2 separate regions of the Homo sapiens genome follow, and region 2 is linked to region 1. The links are contacts of gene promoters, found by promoter capture Hi-C in blood cells and fetal thymus (Javierre and others, 2016). All regions are on one chromosome and are shown on one strand. The core of a region is centred on a gene start or on the middle of the fragment in contact, and the rest is flanking DNA. Distances in the headings are between cores, read along the strand shown. Region 1 holds the start of TNFSF15 (TNF superfamily member 15). Region 2 has its middle 390 kb from the start of DELEC1.

Region 1 (5,458 bases), core at 1,067-3,566:
TGCTCTTGCTGCTGTTTTGGCAGTGACTGCCTTTCTCCCCAGAGCCCTTAGGTCTTCCAGGCAGGCCCTCTCCTAGGCTTTAGTTCTCTCTGGGTTTCTCTAACACTTCTCCCTCCATGTGCCCTTCATGCCAAGGCATGGTTGCTGGTTTCCCACTGTTGCTAGTGCTGGATGTTCCAGCCCTTTCAGTTCCCTTCAATCCGTCTGCATCTCAGCAAAGAGGCCCTTCTTTAAATCCCTTCAAACTCTTTAAATATTCTTCTACAAATGCACTTTCTTGAGTGAGCCAGCTGTTTCTTTTCAGGACCCTGATTGCTACATGAGCCCAGCCTCACCCCCATTTCCCTCTCCTTTTCTTCTGACACACTAAGAAGTTACAGAGCCTGGGCAAACCAGAGCTGCAATCATCCCCACACATCTGCTCTCCAGGAAGATGAATTTAATGATAATGGAATGGATGGTGTCAGCCTTATTCATTTCTTGAGCATCTGCAATTGGATAGGCACAGTGATAGATTCAGGTAGGGGCAGTAGCAGTGAGTAAAAAAGACCCCGTGCCTTCCTTCACCGAGCTTCCCGTCTAGTGACAGTGCATGTCTCCATCTCACCTTCTGGCTGGGCAAGTCATGGATCCTCCCTGGTCTGTAACATTCTGCTTGCTGGTCTTCTAGATAGACAAAGGCAGTCCTCGCCTTCTGCTGACCAAGGGCTCTCAGACATCATCTTGATCGTGGGAACCTGTCATGCCTCTGGGCTTCCTTCAGACCCCAGTGCAGGTTTCTGGAGGCCACTCAGTGTCTCATTCAAGGACAACTATCTCCTTCTGGCTAAAGAGGGACAGAGTCCCAGAGCACCAACTGGGCGCTGCAGTTTGACTTCCAGCAGAAACTGGCCCCTTGGTGGTCAAAGGGTCAAAGTCTGACTTCCCATGACCTGCGGTTCTTCTTTAACATAAACAGCATTTCCGGTTTGTCTGCATATTTCTACATTTTATGAGCAATGGCATCTGGCCATGAACGCTGCTGCCTGAATCACAGTCTGTTTGTTGACCCTGATGGGGCAGCGAGAATTACAGATTTTCCATGGCTTACTTGTGGTGTCTATGCTTTGAAACTGGCCAGGATTGCTTAGAGGCTAGGTTTCCAGTTAAACCCATTGAAAACCCATTTTTTTCCCTTTGCAATTTAATACTTTGAACTGAAATGAAATCAGCCACCATAGATTATGAAGGGACATTTTTAAAAAGGATATTACTGGAAAGACTCATTCCTTAGGTTTTGAGGTACATCTTTGTTGTTCCCAGCCAAGAATTATGTTTTCTTCTTGACACCTATCGCTGCCCCTACCATTGTTCTCCCTAGACTTCATATTCTTTTTCTGACTAGGCTTCTCCCAGGCCTCAGCAAGACCTTAGAGATAGACAACCAGGCAGGAGGTTCTTTCTTAAGCTCTAAAAAGAGAAAAAGTTCTAAACCCAAGAAAAAGAGTGGGTAAAGAAATTATAGCATCCACATATAGGAATGTGTATCTATAGCATCATGTTGTTGTGAATTCATTAGCATATAAATAAAATCATAATATATTAGCAGACTCAGAATAATCTCGTCTCATTAAAAAATCCGTTTTATATCTGGCATATAATTCTGTACAGAATTATATATCCCAAACTGTTAACAGTGGTCAGCTATAAGAGTTATGGGTAATGATGACTTTCTTCCTCTCCTTATCTGTATTTTCTAACTTTTTTCAATGACCGTGTTAGTTATGTAATTTTAAGTTTTTTTCTTAAATAAAAAGAATCTTCCCAAATTACCAGTATACTATGATTATAATTATCTAAAAAATATGAGGCTGAAGGTTATCCCCACAGTAAAAGAAGGGACTGTTCATTCCCTAGAAATATTGAGAATAAACACCAAATTGAACCTCTCCACCCCTCCCACTCTACATTTCCTCTGCATGTAGAAACAAGAAATGTGATACATCAAGAAACTCTATCCTCTGTCCAGAGCTGAAATAGTTGCCACTCACTGCAGAGAGTCCACTGCTCCTCCCCAAGGTCAGAGTGCCATGTGGCTTACCTGGAACTGCACACAGGCCTCTCCCTGGGCCCGGAGCTGGCTGACAAGCAGGTATGTGGTGAGTCCTGCAAGGAAGGGGAGCAACACCAGGCAGCAGGTGAGAGCCCAGCGTGCGCTGCTGCTCCTGGCCTTGGGCCTGCAGCTGCCGTGCTCTGGCAGCATTTCCACACTGGCTGTTTCCCCAAAGCTCAGTCCCAGATCCTCGGCCATGCTCCTGCTGCTCCTGGAGGCACCTCTGACTCCTGGGCAGAGAGAGCCCCCATTAAATAGAAGACCAGCTCTCACAGTGGGTGACTTAATCACTCAGTCTCCTCCTTCCCTTTTCCTCTCCCCTCCCCTCTTCAAGAGCACACTGTGGCCCTACCCTGCTAGAGAATGCACCGCCTACAACAGAAACCAAGTTTGGTTTGAGGAAAAAAAAAAAAAAAAAAAAAAGAAGAAGAAGGAGAAGAAGAAAGCTTTCCCAAGCATATTTATATACAGTATGCTCATGTGCTCCTTCCTTCGTTTACAGAAGGAAGTTAGGAAAGTCCCTGAAGGAGGAGAGAAAGAATTCATCAAGTCAGTGGGTGGGGCAAATTAAAATATACCTGTTCCCTGCACTGGAGGCTTACCAGCTGTGCCAGTCTGGGGAGTGTGCTTCTGGAAGTGAAAGTGAGGGATGAGAGGTGTGTGGTTTGCAGATTGGGAAACGGAAATCACATTTGCATCAGCTCTTTGCAAAGTGCTGCCTAGCCCTCTGTCATTTTGAACCTCATAGAAATTCATTCTCAGTGTACAGATGGGAATAGCAAAGTTCTAAAAGGTGAAGGCACTTGTCCTAGGTCATCCAAGGATGAAGACAGAGGAGCTAGGAAGATGACCTAGTTCTAAATCACGGCTTGGAGTTGTAACCTCTAGCACATGACTGCCCATGAAAGGAAAGTATTTCCAGTCTGCATTGACCATTGTTTAATCAGAGTATGAGGCCACAGATCGAGGTGACTGTCTGTGAGGGTAGAACATTAACCACTACTCCCTGATTAGTCTAAAGTTAATTGATCATGTGATGTGCTTTGCCTGCAGTTGGGTGTGGGGGCCACAACATGTAATAAAAGATTATATTTATTAAGTGCTTACTTTGTGCCAATCACTGCTCTAAGTTAAATACATCAATAAAATTATTCAATCCTGAGATAAATTTTGTGACAATAAAGCTATCATTCTCATTTTACACATAAGAAAATAAAGCACAGACGGCAAGTGGTAGAGCCAGGATTGGGACTCAGGCAGGCTGGCTGCTGGCTTCTTCACCATCACACTTCACCATAGGTACTGCTGGATCATGCATGTTCATAAATACCTGCACTGTCTTTACCCAGGAGTGGGTAAGACCCTGCAGTGAGGGGGTTGAGGGGGCTTCCTGGAGAAAGAGGTGGTGTTGGAACTCGGCCTTAGAGCTCAGGGAGGGTTGATCTCAGAGGAAAGTAAAGGACCCTGGGAAAAGATGGGTTCTAGAAATAATAGGAAAGTTTAAGGAATGGCCTGTGATGTACGGCAGAAACCAGTTTTACTAGCGCCTCCATCCAGTTGCTACTTCTGGTTATGTCACAGCCTGGACTCTTCAGGCTACTTGGAAAGGCCTTTCATGGCTTGGTCCCTGCTCACTGTCACCCGTCCCCAGTGTCCAGCCTCAACTTTTACTACTTTCCCAAGCTGCAGTTCCCTGGATACACTATTGACTAGCTGTACTGTTGCAAAATGGAAGTGTCCAGTCCTCTTCCTTCATATCACTATGCTCCTATGCTCATTCTAGCAAAGGATGATTTTCATGTCCCATGGCTACTCATTCTTGGTTTAACAAATCTATTAAAAAATGTCTTTGAGACTAACCTAAATCTCTGCTATTGTAACTTAACCTTTCTTTTCTATGCTCCTGTTCCTTAATTGTGTGTAGAAACCATTTTTGTATCCGCCTGCCTCCAAGATTGGGTAAGATGATCATATTCTATGTTCCTATAGCTTCCCTTTCTTCCCTATCATTGAATACCTCCTACTAGACTATGTTTGACCATTCCTTCTGTCTCCCCAATTAGACCATCAGGTCTGGGAGAGCAGGTACTAAGTCATAACCCTTCCCCATGACTATTGCTCCTAACTGTTATTCAATAGACTCATTACCATCTACTAAAATAAGCATCTAACGTATTTTCAAAGAATTCTAGCAAAGGATGATTTTGATGTCCCATGGTTACTCATTCTGGATTGAACAAATCTATTAAGAAACATCTTTGAGATTAACCTAAATCTTTGCTATTGTAACTTAACCTTTCTTTTGATGACTGAGTAGCATTCTATGGTACGGATATACAACAGTTTGTTTAATCATTCGCCCACTGAAGGACATTTGGGTTATTTCCAGTTTTGAGTTATTATGAATAATGCTGTTGTGAATATTTGTGTACAGATTATTTTGTGTGAACATGTTTTCACTTTTTCTGGTATAAATGCCCAAAGTGAAATTGTTGGCTGTATGGTAAACAAATGTTTAATTTCCCATGGTAAAATTAACTGCCATGGTAAAAACATACCATGTTTTTTACCATGGTATGTTTTTACCATGGCAGTTACCTATAAAATTTAAGCAGTTGCCTAAATATAGCAGTTATCTACAATTAATTCTGTAGGTAACTGTATGGCAGTTACCTACAACCAGAGTGGTTGTATCATTTTACTTCCCACAAGTAATGTGTGAAAGGTCCAGCATCCTCTCTGTATCCTCTCTCCAGCATTTGGTGCCTTTACTATATTTTGCTTTTGCCGTTCTGATAAGTGTGTGGTCGTATCTCACTGTGGTTTTAATTTGCATTCCCCTAATGGCTAATCATGTTGAACATCTTTTCACATACTTATTTGCCATCTGTATAACTTCTTTGATAATACAGAGATCTATTTTGGCTGCCAGGAGGTACTTCTTTTTTCCTTCTTGAATCTCAGTGGATTCAAAGGCAAAAAGTAAATCACTTAACAGATAAATGATGAGTTATCGCACTTGAGTATGTGCAAGATAGTGTTCTAGGTACTGGGGATAAAACAGTGAAAAGAACAGACAAAACCTCCTGCTTTCATGAAGCTTATATTCTGGTGGGGGGAGACGGCCAGTAATTAAAACAAATAAGTTAATTTATAGTACATTAGATGGCCTTAAGTGATTTAGAAAAAAAAAAGAGATAAATGATCTTAATTGCAATTGAAAATAGAGTTGTCAGAATAGACCTCATTGAGAGGAGACATATGAATGAAGACTTGAAGAGGGTGGGGGAGGACGTGGAGGTGTCTGGAGGAAGAGAGCCTGGCATTGAAGCCAGTGTACATGGTGTATTTACAGAGCAGCAAGGT
Region 2 (6,273 bases), core at 133-2,632, 720 kb after region 1:
CTCTCTTAAATAGGTATCAGGTAGTTCATTTTATAGGTGAAGAATGAGGTCTGCACAATTAGTACCTCCTGGGATTTTTGCACAAACAAAAAGCTTCTCTGCTTGGATAACTCTTCTGTGGTGTGCTTTAAAGCTAAGCTTGTTTGTTCTACTATATTCAAAGGCTACTTCCTCTACCTGAGGCAGAGTTTGCTGTTTCTCTCTTTGTGCTCCTGTTGCATGGGATAACTTTATCTACCATTGTAGCTTTTACTTGTCATTTATTGTTCCTTTTATTAAAAGCCTATTTCTTGACAACCTCCTGGCTGTCAGAAATTTTGCTCAGGCTTTAGGAATGTAGTGAGTAGCAAAACAGATAAAACTTTCTGACCCAACAGAGCAAAGATGTCATGAGACATAGACGTTAATCAAATAGCCATAAATACACTCTATATGAAATAAACAGGCAGCTGGAATTGAGAGAGCGAAAGGTAGCTTGAGATTAGACTGAGTTTTTTAAGCAAGGGCAACATTATCCATAATTGTCCTACTAAGGATTTCAGGTTTTTATCCTAAGAATAATAGGAATCTTCAAAATAGTTTAAACAGAAGAGTGACTTGATCAGAATTTAATTTTAAAATACTACTGTCTTTCTTTTATAGAGAATACAGCTATTTTCCACACTACTTAAAGACACAGACCATGTTCAGTATTCCTGTAGCATCTAGCAAAATAGTTGGCATATAGTTGGCACCTAGGATTGTTGTTAAAATAGTAAATGAAATACAGCAATAGCTGAGATTTATATATATTTATAAATTATGTAATAATTTTTATTTATAAATCATGTAATAATTTTTATTATACTTTAAGTTTTAGGGTACATGTACACATTGTGCAGGTTAGTTACATATGTATACATGTGCCATGTTGGTGCGCTGCACCCACTAACTCGTCATCTAGCATTAGGTATATCTCCCAATGCTATCCTCCCCCCTCCCCCCACCCCACAACAGTCCCCAGAGTGTGATATTCCCCTTCCTGTGTCCATGGATCTCATTGTTCAATTCCCACCTATGAGTGAGAATATGCGGTGTTTGGTTTTTTGTTCTTGCGATAGTTTACTGAGAATGATGATTTCCAATTTCATCCATGTCCCTACAAAGGACATGAACTCATCATTTTTTATGGCTGCATAGTATTCCATGGTGTATATGTGCCACATTTTCTTAATCCAGTCTATCATTGTTGGACATTTGGGTTGGTTCCAAGTCTTTGCTATTGTGAATAATGCCACAATAAACATACGTGTGCATGTGTCTTTATAGCAGCATGATTTATAGTCCTTTGGGTATAGACCCAGTAATGGGATGGCTGGGTCAAATGGTATTTCTAGTTCTAGATCCCTGAGGAATCGCCACACTGACTTCCACAATGGTTGAACTAGTTTACAGTCCCACCAACAGTGTAAAAGTGTTCCTATTTCTCCACATCCTCTCCAGCACCTGTTGTTTCCTGACTTTTTAATGATTGCCATTCTAACTGGTGTGAGATGGTATCTCATTGTGGTTTTGATTTGCATTTCTCTGATGGCCAGTGATGATGAACATTTTTTCATGTGTTTTTTGGCTGCATAAATGTCTTCTTTTGAGAAGTGTGTGTTCATGTCCTTCGCCCACTTTTTGATGGAACCAAAAAAGAGCCCGCATCACCAAGTCAATCCTAAGCCAAAAGAACAAAGCTGGAGGCATCACACTACCTGACTTCAAACTATACCACAAGGCTACAGTAACCAAAACAGCATGGTACTGGTACCAAAACAGAGATATAGAACAATGGAACAGAACAGAGCCTTCAGAAATAACGCCGCATATCTACAACTATCTGATCTTTGACAAACCTGAGAAAAACAAGCAATGGGGAAAGGATTCCCTATTTAATAAATGGTGCTGGGAAAACTGGCTAGCCATATGGAGAAAGCTGAAACTGGATCCCTTCCTTACACCTTATACAAAAATCAATTCAAGATGGATTAAAGACTTAAACGTTAGACCTTAAACCATAAAAACCCTAGAAGAAAACCTAGGCATTACCATTCAGGACATAGGCATGGGCAAGGACTTCATGTCCAAAACACCAAAAGCAATGGCAAAAAGACAAAATTGACAAATGGGATCTAATTAAACTAAAGAGCTTCTGCACAGCAAAAGAAACTACCATCAGAGTGAACAGGCAACCTACAAAATGGGAGAAAATTTTCGCAACCTACTCATCTGACAAAGGGCTAATATCCAGAATCTACAATGAACTCAGACAAATTTACAAGTAATAATTTTTATATATAAATTATGTAATCATTTATATATAAATCATGTAATCATTTTTATATATAAATTATGTAATAATTTATCATCTTGTCAGTGATCTACTCAAGTAGCCACTGTTATGCCAGTTGAGAGTTGAGAAGACTAAAATCCTGAAGGATGGTGTTAATTGGTAGAGTTGGCAGGTGGTGAAGCCAGAATTCAAACTTGGCCTATGAGATTCCATCGTGGCTGCATTCTTTCCACAGAAGTATGCCCTGACCCATGCTACGTTTTGTGGCCTCTTATGGAGTCTGTGCAACAAGGTAGATTCTGAGAGAATAAAAGCTTTTGCCAATTACCCCTTCTCCCCCAGTTTCTTAGGCATTGGAGATCATTCTCATCTAATACCTCTATGACATCAGAAACATCCTAACTGTTCAGTCATCTCTCCATCTTCCTGTTGCATCACCTTCAAGCTCCAGTTGATACAGTAGGCCCCCTGTATAGCTGTGTAACTTGGGATAAGTTTCAAGATTCCCAGTAGATGCCTGAAAACACAGATAGTACTGAACCCTATATACACTGTATTTTTTTCATATGCATACATACCCATGATAGAGTTTAAATTATAAATTAAGCACGGTAAAATTTTTACAATAACTAATACTGAAGTAAAACAATTATAAAAAATACCGTCCCCTATTTCATGGATAGAAGATTTGCTCTCACCCTAGATCTTAGCAATGTCAGCATACCATTTTTATTTTCTCATTAGGTAGAGAACTTTCACCTTTTCACTTAAAGAAAGCACTTTTGTGTGGCTTCTCTCTGGTATATCTGAATTGCCAGCATCACTACTCTTGCCCTTTGGGATTATTATTAAGTAAAATAAGGGTTACTTGAACATAAGCACTGTGATACTGCAATAGTCCATCTGATAACCAAGATGGCTGCTAAGTGACTAACAGGTGGGTAGTATAGATGGCATGGAGACACTGGACAAAGGGACAATTCATGTGTCAGGCTGGGTGGAGCAGGACTATGTCAGATTTCTTCACATTACAGAGGATGGCATAAAATTTAAAGCATATGAATTGTCAATTTCTGGAATTTTTCATTTGATATTATGAGACCACGGATGACCATGGGTAACTGAAATCATGGATAAGGTGGTAAGGGGAATACTGTACTCTTCTTCCCAGCATCAATTTCAACACCAGCTTACAGTGCCTCACCATCGTTCAATGTCTCTGGATCCCAATCAATGTGGGTCAAACCAGTTGCTCTTCATTTTTCTTTAGCTAGCTATCAGAAACACATAGTCCAGTGTCCTAGAAGGCTGCTCCCAACTTCTACAGCAAATCTATTCTACAGAGTTTTGAACTCAAGGTCTTCTATGGTGTTTTATAGCTCATGTATCAATATTTGCTTTGACTCCCAGTAAGAGAAACCCTTAAACAAGTGTCATAAATAAATCATGAATTTTCTTACTCATATACAATAAGAAATGTGGAGGCAAGTAATCCAGGGCTTCCATGGCTATTTCAAGATGCCAGTGGAGACTCAGGCTCTTCCTGTTATTTTCACTGAGCCTTTCTTTAGCATGTGTTTCCACCAAAATGGCAGATCCACTTCCAGCATCATAGTCATGATCTAAACCAAAAAAAGAGGGAAGGGCAAGGCATAAAAGGTACATGCTGGCTGAGTGGACCCCCTTTTAAAGACCTTTCTCTGAAGCCTTACAAATAGCTCTGACTATGTCTGATTGGCTAGCCCAGTCATATGGCCACTCCCAGCTGACGTTTTTAGTTGGGCTATTAATATTACTATTAATGTTACCAAAGCAGTCATTTACTAAATGCCAAGATGCTCTCCATCTTATCTCACTTATTTCTCAGAACAGCCCCTTGAAGAATACATTATGAATTGGAGGTATAGAGTGGGTTTTCTGCTTTCTGGAGCTACAAGTAGAATTGGATCTTGACTACTCCAGTGCTTTCTCAACCACTATGGCCTTTTTTTCTCCCTCTGAGATGATCTTTCATGAAAAACCACATTATCATTTGGTGTCAGCATTTTAATTTTACTATAATTAAATAGTTGTTTTTCTGTGAAATTACATGGTACCCACAAGGCTGAGAATTAAGGAAAGCAGAAATAACCTAAAGGGTATGAAGAGGCTTCGTAGAAGCTACACACTGGAGATGGGTAGGCTTTTAAAAATTCCTACCCTAACCTCTATTCCAGTGGTTCTTAATTGTAACCAATCATCAGAATCATCTGAGAAGGTTTAGAAAATATATATATTTCTGAATCTCAACTGAAGAGTCTCTACTTCAGGATACTTAGCATGGAAACCACTGCTCTATTTTTTAGATGACTCTGAAGGTCTCTGAAGTTGGCCCCCTCTGCATAGAAACTGGCTTATTCTTTCTGAATACATAAGTATTATCATGAACTCTCTGTATGCTTTGTGAATGCAGCACCTCATGGAAACCTAATATTTGTATGATATAAATAGCACTTTTTATTCCCATTTTCCAGATAATGCAATAGAGGCTTATGAAGTAAAAGTCACTTGATTAAGGTCATATAACTAATATATGGTGTTTCCAGGATCCCAAGCCAAGTCAGCCTGACTTTAAAACCATGGATTTTTCCACTCTGACATGTTGCCACGAACTGAGTCTGTCTAGGGAGAACATTCTTCAGGCATGCTAGAATCATTTCTCACCAGCATCCCCACAGACTCCATGCTGACTAATAAATGCCTACACAAATCTTATATCATTGCTTCCCAGAAGTCCCTGCCTCCATGGTTTCCCCAGACCTGTTCTGAAGGCCCCAGAGGACTGATAGATATGATCTATTCAGACAAATTGGGAACAGGTTGAAGGAGGGCTGAGGAATAAATGGGAATATCAAGCCAGGCCAGAAAATTGACATTCCAAACAATTTTCAGTTGGCACAAAGTGATTTTTCCTTCAGCATTTTTCCTCTTCCAATTTTGTAATTCATGTTTATTTCAAGCAAAATTCAGTCCATCTGTATCTGATTCATTCACACTTAATTTATCAGCAGACTGCTCTGTCAGAGAAATATATGCCAATGTGCCTCTAAGGTTTTACAATGAAATCTGGGTCTGTCTGAAATGCCAGTGCAAAGTGGCCTGTGAGAAATATATAGAGGAGCAGGTGAAGCTGGCTTCACACCTTCTTTTCCAACACACACATCCCTCCCTTTTGCTTTCTGTTTGTCTTAAGCAGCTCTAATGGTCTTTAAAAATAGTTTTATAATCAGCCTTCTGTACCAGTCTTTTTTGGTCTTCTGGCCTTGTTTCATCTACTCATAAACATGCTCACATTTCTCATCCTAAACACAAAACAAACATGTCCTCAGACAAAAAAAAACATTAACTCCAAATACCCTTCTCCACCTCCATTCACCCTCAAAAGCTTCTCCATACCAACTTCACAGAAGTCTGCACCATGCACCTTGTCGCCCCTACTTTCTCATTCCTCTGTCGTAGGCATCTGTGTCCCCCACTCTGCCAAGTCCTTCTAATGAAAGTCACCTTGGAATTGCCAAACCCAGTGGTTATGTTTTTCTTACTATTTGATCAATCTCTCTGTTGCATCTGATGTTGTTGACAGTTCCTTCTTTCTTCACACTCTCTGCTGTATAGCTGTTGGTTTCCTTCCATTCTTCCCCTCATCTTAGCTTTCTTCTTTTTGGTCTCAAACTTTCCTATCTTTCCATATTGAAAAACAATGTATTCTATGCTCTCCATTCTTAATTGAAGGCCCTGATAACAGAATATCTGGGTTCAAAGCCCACTCTGCCACTTCCCAACAATGTGACTTTGAACAAGTTTATTAAGATTCTCTATGCCTCAGTTTCCTCAACTGGAAATTAGAGAAAAACATAGTCCTTCTCTCACAGAGCTGATATAAAGATTAAATGAATTTATCACTCAGAACATTCTTC

The links. Contacts are between HindIII fragments. The CHiCAGO score rates a contact against its expected background, and 5 or more counts as called.
Region 2: a fragment that was not itself captured here is called in contact with the fragment with the promoter of TNFSF15 in region 1 in 2 of 17 cell types (M0 macrophages and M1 macrophages); the score reaches 6.3 in M0 macrophages.

The regions. Positions count from the first base shown.
Region 1 is chr9:114,803,723-114,809,180 of GRCh38, forward strand. It overlaps TNFSF15 (TNF superfamily member 15), which reads right to left and starts at 2,317. Exons shown (of 4, transcript NM_005118.4): 1 at 2,081-2,317. The coding sequence starts at 2,290. The HindIII fragment of the contact is 3,139 bases long and covers 1-2,536 here.
Region 2 is chr9:115,526,553-115,532,825 of GRCh38, forward strand. No RefSeq gene overlaps it. Among named protein-coding and RNA genes, the nearest start is that of DELEC1, 390 kb to the left of the region's middle. The HindIII fragment of the contact is 2,493 bases long and covers 137-2,629 here.